2 separate regions of the Homo sapiens genome follow, and region 1 is linked to region 2. Evidence: promoter capture Hi-C in 16 types of primary human blood cells and fetal thymus (Javierre and others, 2016). All regions are on one chromosome and are shown on one strand. The core of a region is centred on a gene start or on the middle of the fragment in contact, and the rest is flanking DNA. Distances in the headings are between cores, read along the strand shown.

The links. The method cuts DNA at HindIII sites, captures the fragments that hold promoters and counts their contacts. A CHiCAGO score of 5 or more calls a contact.
Region 1: a fragment that was not itself captured here is called in contact with the fragment with the promoter of ZNF222 in region 2 in 1 of 17 cell types (total CD4 T cells); the score reaches 6.1 in total CD4 T cells.

The regions. Positions count from the first base shown.
Region 1 is chr19:56,369,528-56,376,292 of GRCh38, forward strand. It overlaps the pseudogene ZNF542P. Among named protein-coding and RNA genes, the nearest start is that of ZNF582, 21 kb to the right of the region's middle. The HindIII fragment of the contact is 1,223 bases long and covers 3,119-4,341 here.
Region 2 is chr19:44,021,112-44,028,011 of GRCh38, forward strand. ZNF222 (zinc finger protein 222) reads left to right here and starts at 4,268. Exons shown (of 4, transcript NM_001129996.2): 1 at 4,268-4,367; 2 at 5,912-6,038; 3 at 6,287-6,379. The coding sequence starts at 4,326. ZNF222-DT (ZNF222 divergent transcript) reads right to left here and starts at 4,171. Exons shown (of 3, transcript NR_184028.1): 1 at 4,004-4,171; 2 at 3,787-3,908; 3 at 1-2,788. RefSeq lists enhancers at 4,234-4,283, 4,514-4,563. The HindIII fragment of the contact is 1,542 bases long and covers 4,083-5,624 here.

The DNA of each region.
Region 1 (6,765 bases), core at 2,480-4,979, about 12 Mb after region 2:
TTGGCTTTCTGTAAATGAGGAACAAGAAGTATGCTGCAAGGGAGAAGATGGATGAGCTGGCTATATTTCCCAAAAAAGGGTTCTCTTCAGGGTGTTTGCATGGTCTCTGAAATTTTGTGCAAATACAACCAGATTTGATTCTTAGCCCGCTAAATGTAGTCACCAAGACATTTTGTTTGAAAAATAGATTTTCTTCTCAAAGGGGAAACTTACATTTTCTTTTAGGGAAACAGGCAGTATTTTCCCTACACATTCTGTTTGTTATGATGACTCAAGCTGTTCATGAAGTTGTTAAATTATATTTATGTATTTTAAAAGAAAAGTTGTTAAAAAAATTTCAACCGTCATATAACAACCATGCAGAAAAAAACATTTTTACCACTTTATTGTTTCTGTATTTTGATGTGAAGTATTTGAGCTTAAGGCTTTTTTTAACCACCAGTTCTTATCCCATTTCCTCCATACTTCCAATGCTTCCTTAACTCTGTTGATATTTTCACCATCAAGATAGATTTCCATCACTTCTGCAAGTATTTTTCATGTAGTTTTCCCTGCCCTGGCCCTCAGAGGAAACTAATTTCTTGTTTTGATGACAGTGGATTTGTTTTGCTTGGCTTCACGTAAATGGAGTCAAGTAGTCAGTAGGTGTGTGTCTGGCTTCATTAACTCAACATAATGATTTTAATGTTCATTAATGTCCATTATTTGTTGTTGTTTTGCTGAGTATTCCATTGTGTTAATATATTACAGTCTACTTACTCATTTTCCTGTTGATAGACATTTGGGATGTTTCTAGATTTTTGGCTATTATTAGTAAAACTGCTATGAATATTATTGTGTAGGCTGAGTATCCCTTATCCAAAATTCCTGGGACCAGAAGTATTTCAGATTTTGGATTTTTTTTGTTTTGTTTTGGAATATTTGCATTATACCTACTGGTTGCGCAACCCAAATCTGAAATCCAAAATGTTCCATGAGCATTTCTTTTGACTATTACATCAACACTTAAAAAGTTTTGGATTTTGAAGCATTTCAGATTAGGGATATTCAACCTGTATATGTCTTTTTGTGATCTTTTAGAAGATGTAGTGGTAGAAAAAATACTGGCATCTGGGCACAGTGGCGCACACCTGTAGTCCCAGCAACTTGGGAAGCTGAGGCAGGAGGATCACTTCAGCCCAGCATTTCAGCACCATAGTGCAGCACGATCACACCTGTGAATAGCCACTGCATTCCAGCCTGGGCAACATAACAAGACTGCTGTCTCTTAAAAGAAAGAAAATACTGGCATTTGAAGAATATCAAGAAAAAATATTCATTTAAAATATTGTAGTCTGCCTCATTTATGGTGACAGAATTCAGGATAGCAAGAGGTGTGTCTTGAAGCAATCTTGGGGAATCTTGGAGGTGTTGGTAATATTCAGTTTCTTGATCGGGGATCTGCTGATGGGTGTATTGCGTTGTGAAAATTGATCCTATTGGACATGAATTCATCATATTGATCATGGCTTACTGCAGCCTCAACCTCCTAGATTCAAGCAGTCCTCCTGTCTCAGACTCCTGAGTAGCTGGGACTATAGGCATGTGCCACCATGCCTGGCTAATTTTTTTATTTTTTTGTAGAGACTAAGTCTTGCTGTGTTGCCCAGGCTTGTCTTGAACTCCTGGCCTGAAGCAGTCCTCCTGCCTTGGCCTCCCAAAGTGCTGGTGTGGCAGGCCATGTCTCACCAAATGCAGGTGTCCATAACAGCTGTTTCAGTACTGACTGAGTGGTTAAATATTAAAAGCCACTACCCTTACAAAGAGGCTGGAATGTAACAAAAGCCCACCAACAGTTTTGCCTCGGCCTTTCCTGGGCCTTAAAGCATGACAAAATAATGAAGGAGTTCTTAACTGGACCCATTTAGGATGAAACAAGTTTTACTGGGGGTCTGAAGAAACCCCCCACGCCTCCACAAACAAATTTATTGGAGGTCTGAAGGAAATCCCCAAACCACCGTGGTTTAGCAGGAGACAAGATAAGGGTAATCACTCCAGCACCCTACACCCATTTAGATTAAGTAAATTTGCTGAGGCTCCTGAGGAAGGTCTTCAAGACTCAGACCTTGGTTATAGATTAAAAGAAGTTAATCACTTGTCTTTAGATGAATGCACACCTACACATAGACATATAGCTTAGAAGGTATATAAGCTCTGGAAAACTTTGTAATTGTGAGTTGGTCTGGCAGTAATTTCCAGGCCTTCTCCCTGTAACCGGCTACAGAAATAAAAACTCCCTTCCTCCCCAGTTAATCTGCATCTCGTTATTGGGCCTCAATAAATAGCAGCCTGACCCTCAGCTTGGTCCAGGAACACTGGGATTATAGGCATGAGCCACTGCACCCAGAGATCCTTAAGATTTCTTAAACCCCACATTCAAGTGAGAAAAGAGGAACCTTCTCTGCCCCATGTTTAATACAATTAAGTTTCAATAGCTTTTGACCTATGTACTGTTGTTACAGATGGTGCAAGGGTGTATTTGGAAAGGACAACACAGGGCAGCTGTATATGATTGGAGTGATTGGGAATCATAGTTGTATTATGAGTTGATGAAGTCCCAGGATATTGGAAAGGAAAACTAACCATAGGCTGGGCATCCTCAGTTCTTCCCACCTTCTTCCTAAGTAGCTGAGGATGAAACCTTATTCTTTGCTCCTGTTGCACAGCCTGATGGAGGCAAATAAGGTGAAATAATAACACATCTGCTGCAGTTTTCAGACCATTACATCTACTACCCTAAAATGTAGCTGCTAGAGCAAAGACTACTTTATTTCCTATGATTCTATGGGTGAGGAATTCACACTGAACTCAACAGGGTGGGAATGATTAATCTCTGATCCTATGATGCCTGCCAGGGCCTGAATCCCCAAGATGTCTTCTTCATTCATGTATTTTATATTTAGCTAGAATTGCTGGAGTCATGTATCTGGGCCACTGTTCTTTGCTGCTAGCTGAGTTACTCAGCTTTACTTGATGTAGTCTCAGAATGTCTCACTCTCCATTGGCAACGTCTCATTGTCTTTTCTTATGTGTCATGAGCCCCTATGAGGGCAAAACAGAAGATGCCAAGCCTTCCTGAAGCTTTCATCTGGAACTAGTTAGTGTTAGTTCTGTCATATTCTGTTGATTAAAGCAAATTGTAGGTCCGATCCAGATTTAAAGAAAGAGGACTACACTTTGTTTCAGCAAAAAAGTAATTTGTAAGTTATTCTGATACACTACAGATCCATGGTAGAATTGATCATGACTGGCTTTCAACAAAGTCAATGTGTGGTCATACTATGAATATGTAAGATTATAAAATCAACTATGCTAGTTCCTTTACAAATTGGTTTTGAATACGTGGATACACAATCTCTGAGCAATACATTTCTTAAATTATTCAGTGTTTTTTGAATCACCCTGTTCATCTTGAATGTTTCCCTTATTAAGTATTTTTCTATACCCAAATTTTAATAAACACTATTTCACAGTATTGCTCTTTAGTAACTTAAATAAGCTGCTTTTATAAGACAAAGAGTCCTTATCAGCTCCTCCCAACTTCCAGTTATTTCCTTGGGCTCTTCTAAGGAAGTGTTTATCATTTTCAGGGATGAGTGACATTCCAAGATGTGGCCATTGACTTCTCCAAGGAAGAGTGGGGATTCCTGAACCCTGCTCAGAGAGATTTGTACACAACTGTGATGCTGGAGAATTATCAGAACCTGGTCTGGCTGGGTAAGTGCTTAAAGCCCTTAATTCAGCAACTGGTCTTGAGTATTTCTTTTTTTGTTTTTATACTGGGAGTCTTTGGTGAGATTCAGAATTTACATGAGATGTGGAAATTGGAGTGAGCAGCTTTCTTTATCCTATCTGCCAGATGTTCTAATGTTTTTGTTTTTATAATGGCTTGTGTTTCGATTACAGTGTTGATCTGTCACAATACCTGAGTAACCAGAGCATAGCCAACTCTTTCTATTCACAGGACTTTCCATTTCTAAATCTGTGATTTCACTGTTGGAGAAAAGGAAACTGCCTTGGATAATGGCAAAAGAAGAGATAAGAGGCCCATTGCCAGGTGAGTATGAAGAACCAACTAGCGGGGGTAAGCCATGTATATGAAAGGCATACCAGGTCTAGAGGGCAAAGCACCTTTAAGATGTGAAAGATGCTCTCTTCCAATGTTCCATACGTATGTAGAAATTGAGGCTCCTTGAGTTTGAGTTCCTAAAAGGGTACTGATCACCCACCATTTATATCTGCTTTTATAAATGCCTGTGGGCTCAGAAATTACAGGTGTGTCTTTCCTCTTTGTCTATGGTAAGCTTCCTTTTAAATTCAGGATCCTGTTTCTCATGACTTTTTTTTTATTTGACTCTTTGATATTGTTTTCTTTACTGTAAGATGACTTATATAGTGGTCTGATTGTTTGAATGGGTGTATTCATTGGTCATTTATTCATTAACATTAATTCCATTTTTAAAACTAGTCAACTGTTGAGAGTCCCCAAGACCACCCCCAGGTTCAAGGACTTACTAGGAGTCGTCACAGGAGTCATCATATCATTGTATTCATGCCTGCAAAGTTAGTGAATAGTCCAGAAGAACACCATCATTCTGATGCCAGCTGCAAAGTATGGGGGTCCCCAAGACCACCCTGAATTCTGACACGAATTGCAAATCCAAAGGTCCCCAAGATGACCCTCAGGTTTGATAATTCACTAGAAGGATTCACAGAACTCACTGAAAGCTGTTACACTCATGGTTAGAGTTTATTGCCATGAAAGGATACACATTAAAAATCAGCCGAGGAAAAAGACATGGGGCAGAGTCTCGGAGGACTTCCATTTATGCCCCCACAGTGGAGTCATGGACAGTGTTAACTCCTCCCAACAATGATGTGTGGCAGTATGCACAGTGTGTGGCCAACCAAGGAAGCCTATCTGACCCTTGTTATCCAGACTCCTCATTAGGGCACCATCATGTAGACATGGCTGACTGCTAATGTCTCACCTCAATCTCTAGCTCCTCTGAAGGTCACCCTAATATCATGTGACCCAAAGCCCCACATAAATCACATAGTTTGATTATCTGGTGTGGTCCAACGCCCATAGGTAAATAGAGACACTTTTATCTTGCAGGATATTTCAAGGTGTCAGAGATGACCATCTCCCAGGAGCCAAAGGCAAAGACTAGAACTCTCTTTGGAAAAGGTTAAATTATTTACTACACAATGGCTAAGATTTATTTTAGCAAAAGATATAAAACAAAATCAGCAAAGGTAAGCTCATAAGGCAAAGTCTGGAGGAAATCAGGAATGTGCTTCCGAGATTCCTCTCCCAGGGGAGTCACACAGGAGGTACTTAATTCCTCTAGCAGCAACTTGTGTGGTATGTGTGAGATAATAGCAGCTAGACAACATTAGACTTAGTGCCAAGGAATTTACTTAGGGAAGCCATAAAGGTACCCTCTGCCGAGTATATGCTAAAAATCCAGAATCTCAGAAGGAAAGTAGGTGTTCCGCATAAACCACATCATCTGCACAAATAGCTTAGGCACAGTAAGCCACTTGTACCAGTTCCGGGAATGGTAGAAACCCTCATGAAATCCAAGTTCCTTAGAGGTCAGTCAGGGGCCAACGTTGTAAGCACACCTTTCTAAGGAGAACAGTCTCAAAGCCTGCTGTGTTCTTTTCTGAGTTTGTTTAAAAGTATAGAAACTTGCAGTGAGTTTACATTTGAGTGAGGGGATTAAGACTTGCTTCCACAAACCTTGTGCAAAGTAGAAACTAATTAACTAGTAGAAACTAATTAAAATGGTTTATTTTGATGTGTGGGAGTTAGTAAAGTTTTAGTTTCAAAACTGGGTGATATTTAAAGTTATAGAAAGTGAGGAAATGAAGTACATTTGTGATATATTTATTTAAGGAATTGTTGGAATTAAGGTATGTCTTGAACTGTGAGTTACAAATATGTAGCTGGATCTCAATAGTAATTCAGAATTGGAGATGAATGTGTTTTTTATATGTTTTGTGGTGATGGACCCTTAGGAATGGAAGAAATGAATTGCCTATAGATAGCAGAGAAGGACTGATTGATTGGTAGCAAGAGAAACAGGAAACATCCTGTGTTAGAATTCCAGGGCCTCACTATTCATGAAGAAAAGGTAACCAAAGTAAGACCAAGACGTTAGGATAAGACAACGTTGAAAGGTAGTTTATATCTGACTAATTTATGGTTCTTGCTAAAGTGGATATTTCTATGGTGAAAAGGATGTAGAATAATGAGCTTGAATCGTCACATTTGGTAATAATCTTTTATTTGAGTTCATTTTCAAAACCATTAGGCCTTCGTAGTAGAGGCCCCCTGTAAAACCAGCCCCTCTTGCACCCTTAATGAGGTTAGCCCTCTCCACTGTCTACATACACAGTATAATCTGGAAAAAACAGTGGGATTCCCACATGTTTAGTGCATGAAAAACAGGCCAGACTCAGTCATTTTCCATAATTGACCGGGGTTCTGTTCTGTTCTTTTACAGCAAGCACAGCCAGCATCTCTGCCCCTCTGCCCTTTAGCTCCTAAACAGTAAAAACAACTACAGGTTAGAAGGGTATTATGTTCGTCTTTGTAGCAAGTCCTATTGCCTTTCTTTAATTTTTGATCCTGTTGATCAGTCTTCCTGTAATGCCATTTTGGCCCCTGCAATTCCCCATAGTACATGTTTTCTTAAGCTCTAAATCTGTTTCCTT
Region 2 (6,900 bases), core at 3,018-5,517:
ACGTTACTGCGAAGGACATGATTTCAATTCTTTTTTTATGGTTGCATAGCATTCCATGGTGCTTAACATACAAGTGCATGTGTCTTTCGGTATAATAATCTATTTTTCTTTGGGTATATATCCAGTAATAGGATTGCTGGGTTGAATTGTAGTTCCATTTTAAGTTCTTTGAGAAATCTGCAAACTGCTTTTTACAGTGACTGAACTAATTTACATTCCTATCAACAGTGTATAAGCATTCCCTGTTTTCTACAGCCTTGCCAGCTGTTGTTTTTTGACTTAATAGCCATTCTGACTGCTGTGAGATGGTGTCTCATTGTGGTTTTGATTTGCAGTTGTCTAAAATGGTTAGAGATGATGAGCATCTTTTCATATGTTTGTTGGCTGTGTGTATTTCTTCTTTTGGGAACTGTCTGTTCATGTCCTTTGCCTATTTTTTAATGGTGTTATTTGGTTTTTGCTTGTTGATTTGTTTCAGTTCCTTATAGATGCTGGATATTAGACCTTTGTTGGATGCATAGTTTGTGAATATCTTCTCCATGCTGTAGGCTGTCTGTTACAGTTTCTTTTGCTGTGCAGAAGCTCTTTAGTTTAATTAGTTCCCACTTGTCAACTTTTACTTTTCTTGTAACTGCTTTTGGGGGACTTAGCCAAAAATTCTTTGCCAATGCTGATGTCGAGAAGGGTATTTTCTGTTATTTTCTTGTAGGATTTTTGTAGTTTGGGGTCTTATACTTAAATCTTGAATCCATCTTGTGTTAATTTTTGTGTATAGTGAAAGGTAAGGGTCTAGTTTCATTCTTCTGCATATGGCTAGCCAGTTATCCCAGCACCATTTATTGAATAGAGAGTCCTTTCCCTGTTGCTTGTTTTTGTTGCCTTTGTCAAAGATCAGATAGTTGTAGGTGTGTGGCTTTATTTCTGAGTTTTCTATTTTGTTTCATTGGTTTATATGTCTGTATTTGTGCCAGTACCATACTGTTTTGGTTACTGTAGGCTTACAGTAGTCAGAAGGTTGATAGTGTGATGCCTCTAGCTTTGTTCTTTTTGGTGAGGATTGCTTTGGTTATTCAGGCTCTTTTTTTGGTTCCATATGAATTTTATGAGACCAATGTGCTGCCTACTCCACTAAGGAGTCAACTCCATATGAATTTTATAATAGTTTTTTATAATTCTGTGAGGAATGACATTGCATACCTCACTTTCAAATAGATAAGAAGACCAGACAGAAGATAATAATGAAATAAAGGACTTGAAAAACCCTACATACCAATTGGACCTAAAAGACATATACAGAATACCTCATACAACAACAACAATAGAATACACATTTTCTTATTTATACATGAAACACTCTCCAGGATAGGCCATATATTATGTCATAAAACTAAAGTTGACAAGTGGGAACTAATTAAACTAAATTTATTGTCTTAATAAATTTAAAACTTTAGTACCATAGGAAATATTTTTTTCCAATTATAACCTAGCCAAAAAACCCTGGAAATCAATAGCAGCATGAAAAGTGGAAAATTCACAAGTATGTGGAAATGAAACAACACATTCTTAAATAATCTACATGTCAGACTAAATTAAAAGTAAAATTAGAAATATCTGGAGAGAGCTAAAAATAAAAGCAATGTGTCAAAATTGGTGGGATGAGAAAAAAAGCAGTAATAGGTGTGAAATTTGTACCTGTAAATACTTAAATTAAAAAAGAAGAAATATCTCAAATTCACAACCCTATTTTACATTCATGAACTACAAAAAAGAATCTGAATAAGAAAGCTAGTGGAAGGAAGGAAATAATAAACATTAAAGCAATGATACATAGAGAATAGAAAAACCAAGAAAATCAATGAAACCAAGAGTTGGTTATTTTCATAAGAAAATTATGAAAACTTCAGTGAGATTGAATAAAAAATGAAGACAGAAGGCTCAAGAAACTAAATCAGAAACAAGAGGGGACATTATTACCAATTTTTACAGAAATAAAGATGATTGTAATAGAATACTATATACAATTGTATGCCAAGAATTTGTATAACTAGATGAAATAGACAAATTCCTTAAAGCATACACCTTACCAAATCTGAATTATGAAGACAAAAAAATCTGAGTAGACCTCTAACTAGTAAGGAGATTGAATCAGTAATCCAAAACCTCCCAATGTAGAAAAGCCCAGGATCAGATGGCTTCACTGGCAAACGCTTCAACACATTTAAGGAACATTTAACACCATAGCTGCTCAACCTCTTCCCAAAAATGCAAGAAGAGAGAACACTTCTTTGATCCTTCTGTCAGGTCAGTATTACCCTGATGCCAAACCAGAAAAAGACAATTCAATAAAATTATACACCAATATCCCTTATGAATACTGATGCAAGAATTCACCAGCAAAATACCAGCAAGATCCAGCAGCATATTAAAAGGATTACACTTAGTGACCGAACTGTTTTATTCCTGGAAGGCGAATATAATTATGGTTCAACATACAAATATCAATGTAATACTCCACATGAGCAGAGTGGAAGGTATAAATCACATCATGTCAGTGAATGCAGAACATTCAGTTTCACAAAATTCAGCACCTAGCACCTTTTCATGATTGAAATACCAAATAACTAGAAGGAGAATAAACTACCCCAGCAAAATAAAGGCTATATATGGAAATTCTCAGAGCTGATTGTCATACTCAATGGTGAAGGACTGAAAGCTTTTCTTCTAATATCAGGAACACAATGAGTTTTCTCCACTTTTCCCACATTTAGTCAATGTAGTATTGGAAGTTCTATGCAGAACAATTAGATAGAAAAAGAAAATAAAGCTATTAAAATTGGAAACAGAGGTAAAATTGTCTATATGCTAATGACATGTTCTTATATATAAAAATTCTAAAGAATTCACAAGAAAAAAAAACTCTTAGAGCTAGTAAAGTCAGAAAGTTGCAGGAAAAATATCTACATAGAAGAAGCAGTTGTATTTCTATACAAAAACAATTAATCTGAAAAGGAAAATAGTTCCCTTTGCAATAGCATTAAATAAATAAATTACTTAGGAACTGTCTTAACCAATGACAAGAAACACTTGGACACTGAATTTTGCAACATCTTACTAAAGAAAATTAAAGAAGGCACCCCAGGCATGGTGGCTTATGCCTGTAATCCCAGCACTTTGTGAGGCCCAGGCAGGCGAATAACTTGAGGCCAGGAGTTCGAGATCAGCCTGGCCAACCTGGTGAAACCCCTGTCTTCACTAAAAATACAAAAATTGGCCAGGTATGGTGGTACGTGCCTGTAATCCCAGCTACTTGGGAGGCTGAGGCAGGAGAATCGCTTGAACTCAGGAGGCGGAGGTTGCAGTGAGCCAAGATTGTGCCACTGCACTCCAGCTTGGGCGACAGAGTGAGACTCTGTCTCAAAAAAAAAAAAAAAAAAATTAAAGAAGGCGCAAATAAATGGAGATATATCCATTATTAATGGATTGGGCGACTTGATATTGCAAGGCTGTCAATACCTATATCTATAGATTCAATGCAATCCTTAATCACAGTAACATTTTTCTCAGAAATGAAAAAATCCACCTGAGATTCATGTGAAATATCAAGGGACACTCTCTCCCATGGTCATATTTTAGACCTCGTCATTTTCTAGCAAATATTCCTCCATAATAATTTGCAGCACTACTCTCCAACAACTTTGACTTGTATTTCCACCTTGGTCCCACCAGCATGCTAGCATCAGTAATATTAGAACCTCGCCAATACCTACAGTCCACTGAGACGATCACCTTTTTACTCTTTCAACTCCTCGTGTACTCACAGCCTGCCAAGCACATTTCTTGTCAGGAGAGGACAGCTCACTTCTCCTAATGTCTCACTTCCCAAAATTGTGTCCCATGAAAATTTCTAGCTAGATGAAGGCAGAGAAAGAAAATATTTGATTTCTTAGGCTTTATGGAAGCGATAGGAATGGCAATAGTGGTTTGGAATGGAGACTGCACGCACCAGTCAACAGGGTGTGTCCCGAATAAGCAGTGGGTAAAGGACATTTACTGAAATGCTATCTCCAACTCCACTTCAGGAAAGCTTGCTGCAGAGTTAGAGTGATATAGTCCAAATGCTCTGTTTGAGTCGCGGGCCCTTTGTCTCACACGGGCGAGTCCGGGGAATTCTGGGAAGTGGAGTCCACACGCTCTGTGGAGGCTCGAGCACTTCCGGTCCCCAACTGTGACGTTGCTATTTCATTTACCACAGTAGTTTGAGTCATTTCCACATCTTGCGAGTCCTTCCGAACGAGTCTCCTTTCCTTGGGGCTCGCAACCACCCAATGATCGATTCAGGAGAAAAGAAGCCTGGGCGGAGAGCAGAGGTTTGGAGGGGCGCGGGCGGGGATTGCCGTTCCAGTCAGCTGAGCCTTCTGGCGTCGGGGGGCTCTGCTAGGGTCTCAGGGAGTGGGATTGGCGCGGCCCGGTGTGCCCTACTTTGACCTCGCTTAGTCCGCCTCCCTCCTCCCTACGTGTGCAGCCCCTTTCAGTGTGGTGTGGAGTGTCACTTAATGTCCGTTTATCTTCCATTGCTGGTTCGTTTGTTTGTTTGTTTTGTAACGGGACTTTTCGGACCATCCTAATGGATTCATTTTGGGACCTGAAAGAGGTAACACAAATGAGAGCCTTAAAAGCAGTCCCTGTCACTCGGTGTCTGGTGGTCTCTTGTTAATTTCCCACGAAGCCTGTCAGGTCCTCTGGTGGGGTCAGAGCTCCAGCTGCAGGGGCGCCGGCCCTTCTGCCTGATCCCTGCAGGACGCTGGATGATCCCTGACGCCTTCTGACCTCTTTTTAGGAAAGTGAGGGGAGCATTTAACTTTTATGGGGGACGGCAAAACGGTCAGGGTGTTTCACAGCTTTCTTTTTCCCCAGCCCGACCTTTCTAAAAGAGCTGCAGGAAGGGACTTCTTGGCTACTGATGGCAAAGCTCTACGTGAGTGATCCTTGGCTTTTTTTCTTTGACAGAGATGCTTACCTCAACCGAGAGTGTGTAGGATTTGTCCCTCGGGCATGGGTGTCGATAATGATTAAGCCTTAATTGGTAACTTTATTCCAAGTACTTTATACCCCAAAATACATGATCTTCACAGTGGCACTGTGGAGAGGTGCTGCTTTTTTCATTTTAAAGATGGGCGTGAGACACAGGTGGAGCAGGAGTTGAAACCTAGGCAGTCCAGGTTAGAGCCTGAGTTGATCATCTCTTGAATGCAATTCTCATTGAGGCAGAGGTACTAGCTGGGAACAGGTGGAGAACGTAAGTTAGGACTTGATTGAAGGCACCTTGAGGCAAGGCTCAGGGGCTTGGACTTCTATAGGAGTTTTTGTTTGTTTGCTTTTTGCTTTTTAATTTTTTTAACCTTATCTACTATTTTCTTTCTCTCTCTCTCTCTATATATATATATATTTTTTTTTTTACAGAGTTTCGCTCTTGTTGCTTAGGCTGGAGTGCAGTGGTGCAATCTTGGCTCACTGTAACCTCCGCCTCTCGGGTTCAAGTGATTCTCCTGCCTCAGTCTCATTTTCGTCAAAGGGCCCGCGACTCAAACAGAGCATTTGGACTATATCACTCTAACTCTGCAGCAAGCTTTCCTGAAGTGGAGTTAGAGATAGCATCTCAGTAAATGTCCTTTACCCACTATTTATTCAGGACACACCCTGTTGACTGGTGTGTGCAGTCTCCATTCCAAACCCCTATTGCCTAATCAGTCATTGTCAGGACACAAACAGAATAAGTAGGAAATCTATAAGCTGACCTATGTCTCTCAAGATCCAAAACAACTTTACACTTGTCCCTTGTGCCAGTGCAATGCTGCTGTCTCCCAATAGTCTTTGGCCGTAAGATTGAGGTGACATCTGCTTGATGTTGTAGGAGGCAGTGACCTTCAAGGATGTGGCTGTGATCTTCACTGAGGAGGAGCTGGGGCTGCTGGACCCTGCCCAGAGGAAGCTGTACCGAGATGTGATGCTTGAGAACTTCAGGAACCTGCTCTCAGTGGGTGAGGACGGGCACCCCCTGTAATGGAATGTCAGGCCCCAGGAGTGGTTTTTTAATCCTAGGGTTTTCAAGTTTGAGTGTGCAGTGAGAACCTACATTTCCAGTAAATTTTGCCTGGCTATTAGGTTGGTGCAAAAGTAATTGTGGTTTTTGTCATTGGAAGTAATGGTACACTGCAATTACGTTTGCACCAACATGATATTACCTTGAACATGTTGGGATTAAGCATGTGACTTTGCCTGTTCACAGGGCATCAACCATTCCATGGAGATACTTTCCACTTCCTAAGGGAAGAAAAGTTTTGGGTGATGGGGACAACAAGCCAAAGAGAAGGGAATTTGGGTAAGAACCAAGCAATTGTGTGTCCCTGCATGTGATTCCTGTTACTTCTGTCCATGCCCATTTCCAGCATTTTGGGGTAAATGGCCAAACCTGTTTCCTGGATTATTACAGCCTTCTCCCTGCTGATGCCCCTGCTCCCACCCTTCCCACCCTGCCATCTGTTCTTACGGTAGCCAAAGTGATCCGTAGGAAACGGAAGTCACATTGCCATTCCTCAGCTCAAAGCCTTTCTGGCTTCTTGTTTTTATTAGTGTTACAACCTCTTTAAGTGGCTTTTGTAGACCCTGTGATCTGCCCTTCATCCCACACTGTCTGACTGCATCTCCTGTCCTCTCCCCCTTGCTCCATCTTTTCCAGGCACCTTGTCCTCCCTGCTGTTTCTCTATCCTGCCAAGGACATTGTATTGCCTATTGTGGCCGGTGACATAAAACTCAGCAGACTGAACAAGAAACACTTATCTTTCTCTTCTGTAGGCCTGAAGTCTGACACATCTCACTGGGCAAAAATCAAGTGGTCTTAG